2 separate regions of the Homo sapiens genome follow, and region 1 is linked to region 2. Evidence: promoter capture Hi-C in 16 types of primary human blood cells and fetal thymus (Javierre and others, 2016). All regions are on one chromosome and are shown on one strand. Each heading gives the region's core, a stretch centred on a gene start or on the middle of the fragment in contact. The rest is flanking DNA. Distances are from core to core; before and after follow the strand shown. Region 1 holds the start of LOC105372571 (a long non-coding RNA gene). Region 2 holds the start of CST9 (cystatin 9).

Evidence for each region. The method cuts DNA at HindIII sites, captures the fragments that hold promoters and counts their contacts. A CHiCAGO score of 5 or more calls a contact.
Region 1: a contact is called between a fragment that was not itself captured here and the fragment with the promoter of CST9 in region 2, in 1 of 17 cell types (total CD8 T cells). The highest score is 5.9, in total CD8 T cells.

What each region holds. Positions count from the first base shown.
Region 1 is chr20:23,331,462-23,339,144 of GRCh38, reverse strand. All of the region lies in intron 1 of NXT1-AS1 (NXT1 antisense RNA 1), which reads left to right. LOC105372571 (a long non-coding RNA gene) reads left to right here and starts at 3,278. Exons shown (of 3, transcript XR_937379.3): 1 at 3,278-6,578. The HindIII fragment of the contact is 7,152 bases long and covers 911-7,683 here.
Region 2 is chr20:23,602,222-23,609,078 of GRCh38, reverse strand. CST9 (cystatin 9) reads left to right here and starts at 3,162. Exons shown (of 2, transcript NM_001008693.3): 1 at 3,162-3,469; 2 at 5,345-6,669. The coding sequence starts at 3,215. The coding sequence ends at 5,569. RefSeq lists an enhancer at 6,212-6,713. The HindIII fragment of the contact is 2,472 bases long and covers 2,187-4,658 here.

The sequences.
Region 1 (7,683 bases), core at 3,237-5,736, 270 kb after region 2:
TGGTAGAGAGGAGGGTGGAAGGACTTGGCTCCCTTTATTTCATAGAGCTATGATAAGTTCTCTTTTAGGCAAGTGAGAACTACAAGTCTATTTTGTTTACATCATTTTGAGCTCATCAGTTAGATGCCATCAAAACTAATTCTAGATAATATGGTAAAAACTGTCTTCACATTTACAGCATCAAGGATGACTACATTTACCTTCTGTTCTACAGCGATGATTAGGTTTATTCTTTGTCTAGATTGAGTCTAAGCATTGAAAAGAAATAAGAAGCATTTTCACTATTAGGCCTAACTGTTGATTACTATAGAAACACACACATGTAGGACTTGCTCTGTTCTCTCCCACGATGTCTGTACCCCCTAAAGGGTGACTTTCCCAGATTCAAAGTCCAGTGTACAGCCTTCTCTTTTCCAACCCTCCTTACACCATGCTTATTTTAGTTTACTTTCTATTCGGCTATATCTTTATGGAACAGGATCTTGTTTTTCTTGGAATTCCTAATTGTTTTTGTCTTTGTTGCTTTTGCTGTTGACAAAATAATGTGCCTTAATCCCTTCATCTCATGGGCCAGCCTTTCCAGAGCACCCCTCATTGCTTGAAAAGCCCTTTACCCCTGGAGTCACTCCCTAATGATCCTTGGACCTTTCCAGTCTGTATGGGTTTCCTTCATCCTCTGGAAAAGTTATTCTATTTTTTTTATGGCTTTCCCCCATTTACTTTCTCTCCTCTTTCTCTTGTTTTTGCAATTTTGGCCTCTCTCTTGCTTGCTTGCTTTCTTTTTTTTTTTTTTTTTTTTTTTTTGCCTGTGCCCTGGGAATTAAAAACAAACAAATAACTTTATTGTGTATCCTTTCTATTGACTTATTATTTGCCTTATCTGGCCAATTATATCTTTATTTTCTAAGCTTACTTTCATGATCTCATGTTCCTGACTGGTCCTTTTTTCTAGTATTCTGTTCTTCTATTGTACTTTTTGCCTTGTTCCTTTTTATATATAAGGAATGCAATTACCTCTCAAAATTTATGAGAACAAACTCAAGTCCATAGAAACCTCTGGAGCTGAGAATCCTCAGTTCAAATGCTGGCTCTGCCACTTACCAGCTGCATGATCTTGGGCAAGTTAATCTGCCTCAAGGCTTTGGCAAGATCAAAGGGTTGCTATGACCTGATGCACACATGGTACCTGACTTCAGGTAGGTACTGAGTGCATGTCACTGGTGGCAGATTGCATTGCCCAAAGGCGTCTGAACAATTAAAGATGTCCCAGACCTCCTGCTCTAACAACATGACTGACATTGCTCTCACTGAGAGGTGGCGTCTATGTTCCTCCCGTTTAATCTGGGAAGAGAGGAGTTCCCAGGCTAGGTCATAGAAGGTGATGCAGGTTCCACTCAGCTCACCTGTGCTCACTCCCTCTTCTTTTTTTTCCTCTCTCTCTCTCTCTCCCTCCAACTCCCCATACCTCTGTCTCTCTCTGCTCACCCTTGAATGCAGCTACCATGCTGTGAGGAAACCTGGACTAGGCCAGCTGGAAAGAGGACATGGACAGGCCTATTTGGGGAGGAGCTGAGTGAGGCCCCAGTGACAGCAAACATCAGTTGTCAGATGTGCAATGGATGAGCCTTCAGCAGGCTCTGCTGTGCCCTTTTCAAATGCATATTTATTATGCAGCCAGAGTTGGCAGCAAGCACTAAGCTGTGACAGTGCATGAAGTAATTTAATTGGTGAGGCCCATTCTTGCAACTACCTCTGTGACTAGTGGAGACAACTCAGATCCCAGATAAAGGATGGGGTGCTGGGTCAGCATGCCAAACCCAAGCTACCCCAGGGGGCTCAGAGGAAGAATAATGTGCTGGAAAGTGCTCTGTGGCATGTAAAAATGGGTGTCTTCTCAGGATCTAGCAGTGGGACTAGATTTGGGTAGAAGTGCCAAATGAGAGAAAGCAAAGACCCTAAGGATGAGATTTAATGAGGTTGCTGCCCTGTGTCTGGCCTGTCCCCCGCTGGTGCTCCTCTTCCAAGGGCATTCCTGCCCATGGGGAACAGAGGCTTTGGGTAAGGAACACAGCCATCATATTGTATGAACAGCCACACAGGGAGGCTGGCATGAAGCTAATACAGGCTAGAAGTCTCTCCTGGGAGGAGGCTGCCACGTGGGGGTCACAGAGTGCTGAGGGCCACTTGGAAAGTTGTGGATCCAACAAGGATCCTGGGCCCTGGAAGCTCCACAGCATCCCTCAGTAGCAGGCTGTGAAGTATCTGACCTGTGTTATCAGTAGACGGTCTTGGTCTTGACTGCAAGTTGTCCAGGTTCTTGGTGTTTTGAACAAAGAATTAGATAAAATGCACAGCAAAGCAAGGAAAGAATGAAGCAATGAAAGAGCAAAAACAGATATTTATTGAAAATGAAAGTACACTCCACAGTGTGGGAATGGGTGGAGCAGCAGCTCAAGGTCCAGGATATAGAATCTACAGAGTCCAAATGCCCCTTAGAGGTTTCCCATTGGCCACTTGGTGTTCACCCGGTGTAAATGAAGTGGCGGCCTGCTTTCTGCAACCAATCAGAGGCTGAAGTGAAGTTACAAAGTTACGCTCCTATGCAACATCTGATTGGTTGCACAAAGCAACCAATCAGAGGTATTTTCAGTTTCGCATCTGCTGCACAGAAAAGGTGAGGGTTTGCAAAGGGAGTGATTTCTGATCTTTTTGTTACTAAGGTGTGGAAAGTTAGGGCTTTACTTTGAATTTAGTACTAGGAAGTCAGCTTGAAATGGCCTTAGGTTCCCTGCCTCCAGACCCTATTCTTCTGCCTCATCTGGACCACCCATGTGAGGGCCGCTCTTCGGAAGATTTATCCTTAGAGAACAAAGGGCTCAGAGAAATACTGCCTCAAGCTGCACATTGGCCCAACTCAGTTTTATTTTATTTTATTTTATTTTATTAATTTATTTATATATTTGTTTATTTATGACAGAGTCTTTTTCTTGTCGCCCAGGCTGGAGTGCAGTGGCATGATCTCGGCTCACTGCAACCTCCACCTCCCGGGTTCAAGTGATTCTCCTGCCTCAGCCTCCTGAGTAGCTGGGAGTACAGGCGCCTGCCACCATGCCCAGGTAATTTTTGTATTTTTAGTAGAGACGGGGTTTCACCATGTTGGCCAGGCTGGTCTCGAACTCCTGACCTCAAGTGATCCACCCGCCTCAGCCTCCCAAAGTGCTGGGATTACAGGCTTGAGCCACTGCGCCTGGTCAGTTTTTTTTTTTTTTTTAAGTTTCTTCTTGGCATCACCAGTTAAAAGAGATTGAGAACAAGAACGTTCTTTCAGCGTGCCCACACCCCTGCCTGGCTTAACGGGTTTGAAATGTGAGGGGAAGCCAAGTAGCCAGCTTGCCTCTGTTACTCATGGCCCAGTGGGTCGGCTCATGACCCTCAGGCCAGCCTGTGCCACTTTGGTGACTGGTGGCTACTTTGTGGTCAACTCTTGAAGCATCAGCACAGCATGAACAAACCAAAAGTGAAATTCAGAAATGGCTGCAGAAGCCAAACTGTTACCCAGCCCCTCTGAAATCCCCCAAGCACTGGGGGAGCCACAACCAGTTTGGGGGCCATTAGGAACATTTTAATCTATAAGGCTATGTGCTATGGAGGGGTAGGGGAGAGATGGTTGCAGGAGGCCATGGGAGGGTTGAGACCCACAGGCCAGAGTCCAGGCCATAAGACCCTCATGATGAGAATGTTGACAATAACAAAATACTACTACTACTACTGCTGCTACTACTACTGCTGCTGCTGCTGCTGCTGCTGCTGCTGCTACTACTGCTACTACTTACGTTTTAACATTTTTCAGAGCTTTGCTATTTATGATTATTCTGTCCTAGATGATTGCAGCAACATTATGAAGTACGTCTCAGGTTGAGTCCCCTAGAAACAGACCCTGAGATGGAGATTTGCATGTAGGGGTTCGTTGGGGAGGGGATCTTGGGAGTCCCACCTGGGAAGGGTAAGAGAGCAGTGGGGCTTTGATGCTGCTGCAACAGAGGCCTCCACTGGCCCCTGGGGAGCTTGGAGCTTTGGAAACCTGCAGAGTTGAAGCAAGGGTTCCCCGTGTCCCTTCCATAGGCTGCTCATTAGACCAGCGGGGGGTTTGGTGAGGATGCAGAAGGCGCTCAGCCACCAGTGTGGAAGGGGTACCCTGGCCTTGGAGCAGAATCTGAAGAGGACACTGAGCACCCACCACACATGGGCACTCTCAGGATCTCTGCTACAGAGCAGGTGCTGAGTAGTGAGATTTGCCCAGGGAATGAGCCTACCTGGTGGGATCATCATGTGGACCTGGAGGTCCTGACTTACTCAAGACCACTCAGCTACTAAGTGGCCACACTGGGATTCCAGCTAAAGACTGTTTTAGGTTAGAGCTTCCTGATCTCAGAATGGACCCCCTGACCTAAGAATAGGACCCCCCCCCACCTCAGGATGGACTCCCCAACATTAGAATAAACTCTCTGACCTCAGAATGAATTCCTGGGCCTAAGAATGAACTTTCTGACCTCAGAATGGATTCCCTGACCTCAGAATAGACTCTCTGACCTCAGAATGGACCCCCTGACCTAAGAATAAATCCCCCACCTAAGAATGAACCTCCAACCTGAGAATGAACTCCCGAAGCAATAATGGATTCCCTAACCTAAGAATAGACTCTTCAACCTAAGAATAAACTTCCTGACCCAAGCATGAATCCCCTGACCTAATAATAGACTCCCCAACCTAAACAGGAACTTCCTGACCTAGGAATGAACTGCCTGACCTCAGAATGAACTTCTTTACTTAAGAATGAACTTTCTGCCATCAGAATGGACCCTTGACCTCAGAATGAACTCCCCGACCTCAGAATGAACTCCCTGACCTCAGAATGGACTCCCTGACCTCAGAATGGACTCTCTGACCTCAGAATGAACTCTCTGAACTCAGAATGAACTCTCTGAACTCAGAATGAACTCCCTGACCTCAGAATGGATTCCCCGACCTAAGAATGGACTCCCTGACCTAGGAATGAACTCTCTGACCTCAGAATGAACTTTCTGAACTCAGAATGGACTTCCTGACCTCAGAATGGATTCCCTGACCTAAGAATGAACTCCTTGATCATTTTGCAGGTGATGCTCGGGAGCACCAGTAGGGAGTGGGAAAGCAAACAGGGAAGGGAAAGAAGGCCAGCCAGGCACAGTGGCTCATGCCCATAATTCCAGCACTTTGGGAGGCCAAGGTGGGTGGATCACCTGAGGTCAGGAGTTTGAGACCAGCTTGGCCAACGTGGTGAAACCCCATCTCTACTAAAAATACAAAAATTAGCCAGACGTGGTGGTGCACACCTGTAATTCCATCTACTTGGGAGGCTGAGGCAGGAAAATTGCTGGAATCTGGGAGGTGGAGGTTGCAGTGAACCATGATCATGCCACTGCACTCCAGCCTGGGCGACAGTGACACTCTATCTCAAAAAAAAAAAAAAAAAGAAAGAAAGGAGGCACTGGGAATGCTGAGGGGCTCTGGCAAATGGTGATTATCTATCCAGAGCCCTTTCTGAAGCATTGCTCTGCAGACCCGCCAGCCAGGGTTTTCATTAAGTAGCATTAAGTCATAACCTTAAGTAATAAAGCAAGCATGCATAGAAGGGCAAAGCCAGTCACTTCTCAGACCCCGAACCCCTCAGTGAAGGTTGGTGCATGCAACGGGCTGGCCCTTTGGTGGAGACTGAAGAAAGAGTTTATTGCAGGTGGGAATATTATTTAAACAGGGATTGATGGAGGACAAAAGGGGCTTCTGGTTCCATGAGGCAGGAGATAAATGAGATGGGAATCCTGAGTCATGCATTTTATTCACTTCTCTGGAACGAGTTTTGGGGGCTCATTTAGCAGAGAAAATAGGACAAGAAAAATGGACTCAGCTGGCATTGGACAGAGTCAAAGCCAAATGACTTCTGGGTTCTAAATTTTTTTGTTTTGTCTTTATTCATACGTGTTGGTTGTTTGGATTGTTTTTCATTGACCATTGTAAGCTAAATCCATATCAGGAGGATCTGAAAAGCTCATAATAAAAATATAAAGTAGAGACCAAGGGTTGTAAAAGTGGCATTTTACTCAAGATATAGTAAGGCTGTTTTACAATAGTGGGTAGTAATCAATAATTTAAATGAAAACCCTCAAGGGTTAGATGATGATAGAGCTGATGTTCTTCTTATTGACCAAGATGCACCAACCAGTCTTGAAGAGGATCTCGTTTTGTAAAGGAGCCATGCAGAAGAAGAATTCCCAGAGGGAGCCTAATGTCTGTGAAATGTCATATATTGCTTACACAGAAACCAGTTACTCAAAGAGCTATGCTGTTCTTATGCCCTGTGATGGATCTACTGGGGATAGAGATAAGAGCCTGTCTGCCTGCCTCAGCCTGTGCACCTGATCGTTCTTTTCCTGAAGCAACTTGTCATGCCTTCACAGTGCACACCTGACCAGTTCCAAACCAAAAAGGGATGTGCCTGGACGTGTGTGGATAGATGGCTGAGGGAGACATTATTGTTGTTGGTGAGTGAAATTGTTCTTTCTTCCTGGGTCTGGCATTTTATTTGAATGATTCTTTAGAAATTATTTAAAAATTTTCTGCCAGGCAAAAGTTTGTGCAAATGTCAACAAATAGCTTACCCTTACCCAAAAAAGGTGAGATTTGAGGTCTGGAAGTTTATGTAGTAAGGAAGACGCTAATTCTTATGGTTTTAAGATTTATAATGAGAAGTAATGGGGATTTGTCAGCATTGAATTGTGGGGTTTTTAATGAAGCTATTGTGAGAGAAAGATGAATTGACGATCTCAGGATTGAGTCCCTCCTGAAGGAACTTGGTTGGTCAGATATGGCTCTAGTGAACATCTGAGAAACAGAAAAGAAGACTTGAATGTGGTCCTTTCTGTTCTGATACTGTTATCGTCCCAGTCAGTCATGCGTAAAACATCAGCTTAGTCACTTCTTCCTCTTCCCTTTCCAGTCCCTGCCATGGGTCTCTTTTAGTATTTTCCAGTAAACTTTGCTTAGAAAAAACACCAATAAAAATCCTTGCAAATGAAATCATCAGACCCTGAAGAAGTAGCATCTTCTCTAGGGATTGATTCCTTTTCTCCTTCTAACACCACTAATACCTCCCTTGGCCAGCCACTGACACCCTTTTGAGGACTGTATTTTTGGCTTGAAAATTGGCCTGTCAGTAAATTCGAAGGGGTGTGTATTGTTCCAGGGTTGATGTATTATAACTCTGCAGGTGCCCTGCCCAATTCATTTTACTGAGTGGTCACACCCCCAGCTGTTGTGTGTGCTGGCTGGAAATAGCCACATTACAAACATGGTGCCTGTGAGTCAAGGTGGATCAATGCCACAGTGCAGCCCCTGCTCCAGAGCCCCCAGCGGGGCCAGGCTGAGGTGTGACTGCAGCGGATATGAGGCCATCTCACTCCTTCCCTGACTTGTTCTGCTTCCCTCCGTCTCTTCCTCCTGAGTCCTCCCTCCAGTCATGGGCACCCACACCCCTCTCTCTGGCTCTGCTTCTACAAGACCTGACTCGAGGCTCTGCCTTTACACTTGGATTACTGCAAGTGCCTCCATCCTTCTTTGATCTTCTCCAGGTGTCCAGCACCCCCTCCC
Region 2 (6,857 bases), core at 1,913-4,412:
CATTTTTTAATTCAATCATTATTCCTCTTTCTCAGTTTAAATTTGCCATAAGTCTATATGAGATTAATTCCTTAAATTATAAAAACTCAAAGTCAGCTGAAGACTGAGCTAAGAAGAACCCCCCAGGTGGAAAACCTGGAGGAGGGGAGGGAGGAGTGGAGGGGGCTCTGGAATTCCCTGGCAGCACCCCCACCCAGCCCCGCTCACCCCCCTGCCCCGAGCTGCCCCTTTGATGATTGCTATGACAGCAATCACTGGATCACTCACTCTGCTCTGAGTCCGGGCTTCTCCCTGCCCCTGCTGTCTTCCTTTGATCTCCTGGACACCACCTTGTTTTCCAGCACACGGAAACCCCTGGGAATGCTGGCTTGTCTGGGGAGTCTCCTAGGGAAATGCCAAGCAGGGGGAATGGGGAGGGTCCCGAGGAAGTGATCCCAAAGCCCAGCAGGCGATCCTGAAACTGGCAGGCCCCGCTGAGCCTGGCCCAGCTTGAAACAGGCAGTGAGCAAGGTCGCACGGGACCTTTAGAGCATGTGGCTGAGTAGGCCGGGCAGTGAGGGACATGAGTCCGACCCCGGGGAGAGCACTCAGCTGGAGGGTCTGCGGGAGCTGGGGAGAGCGTCCTGTGTCCCGAAGAGTCACTGGGCTTCCCCTCGTCCACCGCCTCATGTTCAGCTTCACAGAAAAGGGCCAGTGGCTTGGTCCTGGTCGTTGCCAGCATTCTCTAATCATTCAAAGGAATGCGTTCAGAAATACAGGGCCTCGTTTCTGGAAAAGCAGGTCCATTTCAGTGAGGAGTTACTGGGACCTTCCTATGAGACCACATGGGTGTTCGGTGCCAGTGCCAGCAACACAAAGAGAGCACCAGACAAGTCCCGGTGGCCCCAGAGACAGACAGGCCAACGAGTGCCCAGGAAGAAGCTGAGTGAGACAGAACTCTTGCAAGGGGACTCAGGAGAGAAAGCCTCCCAGACCTGAGACCTGGGGATAGCCCTGCAGAGAGCTGTGAGCTGTGCCTGTGGGCTGGCCAGCCAGCCCCTCCGGGCCGTCCGGTTTCACTCTGGCCTCGGCAACATGTTGACCCACGTCTTCGGGGCTCCTCAGCCTGGAGCCCACATGTATTTCTCTTTACCTGGCTATGTCTTGATATTCCCGTCTCTCTCCACCTGGGAAGTGAGGCCATCCCAGGCCACTGGGGATTCAACAAGAAAATAGACACACTTGTAAGGGTCCATGGTGTCTGTACACCCGTGGTCTCACATCTGGGTGTGGGGATCCCTGTCCCCTCCTTGGCTGCACAGTGAGGACAGAGCTGGTGCCCAGGACCCTAAACCACTGCTCATGTAAGAGTGAGTGTGGGCACTCCCTTGGAGCACATGTGGGTATCGGCCCTCAGAATGGTGGGGGAGCCACTGGCAATTGGCAGGATGCCCCAAGTTTGTCAGCCGCTGAACTTACAAGGTGAGAGTGACCTCCATGGGCATTGCAGGCCTCTCTCAGGACACTCGCAACCTATTCCAGGCATCAGGATTCTAGTTCTCACAGCACCTTATGGCCTGCTCATCCCAAAACCCACAAAGGCATTTCCGCCCTCACTGACACCCCCTTCCTACCCCTACGTGCACCATCACTCTCCAGCTAAGAAACCACATTAGTTACGCTTCAGCTGCAGTTCCAGTGAACTCAACGCCATCAGAGAAAGGATACAGACTCCTTGGGTGATGTTTTTGGCACATCTGGCTGCTTTCCTGGAATTGTCACATTGAGTTGCTTTTTCTTTGCAAACAGGGTCTAGAAACAAACTCTTATTCTTTATCACCAGGCATGCTGTCTAAGCCTGTCCCCCATCCTGTGTGCCCCACAAAAGCCATTCTCATCCCCTGACCTCCATGCCCCTCAAGCTGAGTTACTTCTCATATGTGGTTTGGTCTGTATGCACTTCCCAGGAAGTATTCTGAACCTGCACCACTCAAAGTATGGTTCTGAGACCGGGAACACAACCATCCTCTGGAAGCTGGTGAGAAATGTAGTTTCCCTGGCCCTGCTCACAGCTACTGGGTCAGAATCTTTGGGTGGGGAAACTAGGAACTTGCTTTTTAACGTGACATCAGGGGATGCTGGTTGCTTCTGAAGTTTACAAGGAGCTACGGATAAACATCAAAGGCATATTTCACAGGGACAAAGCTTAAGTCTGGTCTGTGAAGAGTGCATTATTCAGTCTTTTGAGAGCCCCATTTGCGGTTGGAGTTGGAGGCTATGTGGGTCTTGGTCGAGAACTCAGAATCTCCACCCACAAACTGTGCCGCAGAGTGCTGTGCCGGCTGTGGCCACAGGAGGGAACCCGTGACAACCTAATGGGTGCACTTCAGCCATCCCTGAGGGCATCTTCGTCTTTCTGGTTCTCCACTGCTCCAATTGCAAGCGGCCACCCGTCCTGGAAACACCTTTGAGGAATAGGGGCAGCCATAACTAGCCAGGCCCCTAGTACCAGCACTTGGCAGCGCGTCCCTGGGCTGGGAAGCTGCATTTAGGGAGGTGCAGAGAACAGGGTTGGGGGCTCCTGCTCTTGATTTCCTCAACCTCTGCCCACGACCCCCAGGCTGGTGCCCCCCTCCCGAGACCCTCGGGGGAGCAGACACCTGCAGGACATCCCGCCAATCCTCCCGGGCTCCCCGCCTCTCTCTCAAGAGGCCCAGTGCTTTCTCGGGGCGCTGTACCTGCTCACCCATGATACTAGCATCCACTGTCATCCCTTTCCATCCTTTTGTCTCTGCCTTTCCACCTAACCTCCCCCTCCCAGCCCACCCCCACTGCTGAGTCCAGGGCTCACCTTCCACTCATACCTCTCACACTTGTGTTCCTGTGCCGGGCTCTGACTCTGGGGCGCCCAGTAGAGGTCTCCTTTAGCCTGCGGAGGTGCTGGGGCAGCTGGGGCTGGGCCTCATGTTCAGGGCACTATCTCTCCCATTGCTAGTCTTTTCCAACCCACCTGCCTGGGTGCTGTTCCTCTCCCCTAAACAGGAGATGATTTAAACGCCTTTGGAAGAAGGGAGGCCATGTGTGGGAGAGACAGGGTGTAACTGCAGAGGTGAGGCCTGGAGGGAGGAGTTTCTGCCCCAGCAGGTGAATTTAAAGGCCAGACCTGAGCCCTGGAAGGCTCCAGTGGACGCCAGGGATCTGAAGGGCAAAGGCAAGGGCTGCTGGAGCCTGCATCATGTCGAGTCCGCAGAGGAGGAAGGCTATGCCCTGGGCACTGTCACTGCTTCTCATGGGCTTCCAGCTCCTGGTGACTTATGCCTGGTGTTCTGAAGAGGAAATGGGTGGTAATAATAAAATAGTCCAGGATCCTATGTTCCTCGCCACAGTGGAGTTTGCCTTGAACACTTTCAACGTGCAGAGCAAGGAGGAGCATGCCTACAGGCTGTTGCGCGTCCTGAGTTCATGGAGGGAGGATAGCATGGACAGAAAGGTTGGTGACCACATCCTCTTCTGGCCTGTCCTTCTCCATCTGCCCCTAAGTGAGGGACCAAGATGTCTAGTCTAGGAGACTTGGTTCACCATCAGCAGTCCATAGTCAGGTAGTCCACAACCAATTACGGTAGTTTTAGTTTTGGAAAACATTGAACTTAAAATTTTTTTTAAATTAGGTAAATGTCTATTCACATGCAAAATATATTTTTCAATCTTCATGATTTTTAAGACATTGTATAACTGAAGAGTGACTTCAAAATAAGGACTTCTAAGGAGATGAAGCTGACAAGAAGAGAAAATAACCAAAGAGACTGATAAACATTTCCAGGTCATAAAATGAAAATGGAAAAGCAAGGACACACAGAGGGAGAGAGAGAGAGAGACAGAGAGAGACAGACAGACAGAGAGAGAGAGACAGAGAGAGAGAGAGACAGGCAGACAGAGAGAGAACAGTGAGAATTCGAGGGCAATAAAGAACACCATCAGCCCTGAGAGGCCACCGTGAAAGGTTAGTTCTCTGATCTCCACCTTCTCTGGGCTCCTTGCTCTGTCTGCACTTAATGAACTGAAGGCCAATTTACACTCTTCCTCAATGGACCTTTATCCTAAAATGCTTGCCTTTTTGATGAAATCATTAAATGTGGTCAGGAATGCACAGTTCATCTGGGCTTCAGGCATGAACAATTAAAATGCCCTCCTAGTGGAGAACTTCTGGTTTAGAGAGAGAAGGAGCATTGCTCTTCCTTTCTCAGCACCAAGAGCCTGAAAGAAAGGCAGAGGGACTCTAGTACCGCACAGAGCTTAAGCTCTGGAAAGACTCTGTGCAAGGCTCTGGCTGGTTCTCTGCCTCCTGGGGTGGATTCCTCACTGCCATCCTCAGGATTCCAATGCTGGTACAGAGGAATTTTCCTCCTTGCTCATTTGCTGCCTCCTCTCAGGAGAATTAAAAGCCTGATGCAACCCTCAGAGGGGCATCTGGTCCAGTAATGGTGGCTGCTAATATTCATGCTGGAACCTTGGAAGTCTCAGAGATTGAGATTGGCCAGGCCTCATGCTTCTGCTTTCCCAGTGCTTTGCTTGATTCTCCAAGACCTCAGTGTAAGCCTCCATTCTTAATACCGTTAGAATAAAATCTAAGCTCCTTACTATGGTCTATAAGTCCTAAATGACAGTAAGTCCTAAAAGCTTTCCACATGGCTTCCTGGATATGGCAATCCCAGCATCAGTTTGGGGGCTGGGAAGAATAGATGGGTGAGAGGGAGGCTATGGAGTGGAATTAAATAGAATGGAGTGGGAAGGAGGGCAAGGAGAACTTCAGCATGCACTTTGCAATAGGGCAGATGGTATTTCTTGAACCCATTTTCCCAGGGTGTGTGCCTGTGTGTAGTGGGAGCGCTGTGTGTCATTCTTCTTGCTGGAGGTCACTTGGAAGGTTTGACAACACACTGTAGATGAGGCTCCCTCTGTCCCAGGGCTGAAGTTACCCTGAAAACTCTTGGAGATCCAACACCCTCCCGGACATGTGGCTCTGTCCTCTGGGAATGCAGCTGCAAGATCAGATGCCTACTGAGAGTGAAGCTGGAGTCTCACCGTGGGAAATGGGGGTGGGTGGAGGTGGATAATGTGTTAGTGGGGTCTGACTCAGCCTGCATCCTCCCCAGACCCACCATGCCCACCTGCTTTTTGCTCTTAACTCCTCAGTCTAGAGAAGATCCCCTGGGTTTCACCTCCAGTGAGCTGATGCCAGGCCCATGGGCAAGCTCTCAAATGCAGTAAAGTGTTGGGGCCTCTCCTACTCAAATGGCATCTTCACTAGTAGCTACTTAGGGGCAGGAAGACGGTGCATCCACTTTAATCTTCTTTTGTCCAACAGTGGCGAGGTAAGATGGTGTTCTCCATGAATCTGCAACTGCGCCAAACCGTATGTAGGAAATTTGAAGATGACATTGACAACTGCCCTTTTCAAGAAAGCCTGGAGCTGAACAACGTAAGACAGGGCATCAGCTTTCCTCAGGTCCACAGCTGTGGATGCTGCATGGGGTGTGGTGTGGGCACAGGAGCAGCTGACAAAGCCATTCCGAGGGACAAAGGGAAGTGAGCCCACAGCAGGCTGTACCAGGCTGCCCTGCTTGTGCCTTAGTGGGAAGCCCAGTGAGGCATTAAGCCCAGGGGTTCACTTTCAGGCCCCTGGCCAATCTGAGTTTCCTGATTCTGCCCTCTGACACCATTGCAGCTGCCTGCACCTGGGCCACATGGCCTTCAGAACCTTCTCTCTGGTCTTCCTCCCCACTTCTTCCCTGCCTTCTAGAGAAAGAGCCTGGAGACAATGGTGACAATGTCTGTGGGTACTTTTCTCAGGGTTTCCCTACCCTGCCCTAGACCCAAAAGTGGTGGAGGCTGAGAAGAAGCCCCACTGCCCTCGCTCCTAGGCCCTGCTGAGCTGCAGCACCTGCTCTAGGGGACGAGCTCCAAGCAAAGCCTGGCTCTGGGAAAACTTCCCATTCTTAGTCAACCCCCTTATTGTAAGATTAACAAATAGGTAACTAATTGCCTAAGTCTGGGAACTGCTTCCACTGGGACAAAACATTCTCCTGCTGCTCTTGGATGCAGGGATCACACCAGGACAGCCTGGGGTTCCCCTGAGGGGCACGGGCTGGAGGAGGAGGCATGGCACAAGTGACCCTGGCTAAGGAGGGAGGGAGCCTCAAATCACGTTGTAGTTCAGGATTGGCCTCAGGCTCAGGCTAGACCTGAAGGCCAGAGCCACGTGGCACAATTGCTGGCCCCAGGAATGGGCAAGGTGGAGATGGAACCTGTGTTGAGGGCAGATGCCACAAGATTCCCGAACCTCCCCAAACCCCGCCCTACTGTCTCTTCCTGTTTGTTCCCTCGGACCTTCAGCTGCTTCTTCACTGTTGAAACCATGCCCTGGAAGACATATTTTGAACTCCTGAACAAGACCTGCTCAGAGGGGCTCTCCTGAGTGGAAGCCACTCACATGCCTGGCCACATGCTGCCCCCTCCCCCGTGGACACCAGCTGTTCCCAGGAGTTGACATATCAGTGGCTGAGCAGCTCCGTGCATATTTGTTCTCTTATTTTGCAAGTGTCTGAGGTTTTATGACTTGGCATTTTAGAAAATCCTCACTGTCCAGGTTCCTCAAGTAGAATAGGTCATTAAACATCAGCATTTGCAGAAGCTTCCTGTGCCATGTTCTGGAGGGAGGGGGCTGAGCAGTTGATGGAGTTCCTCTCAGAAGGGCAGCCTATTTGCATCTGTGTCAGTGGGGTCCTCCCTCCCTTAAGACCTCATAAGCCAGCTTCCAGGTGGCACAACCAAGATAAGTCTGAGCTGCTGTCTCCATGCTCGTGGCTGATGATGACCCA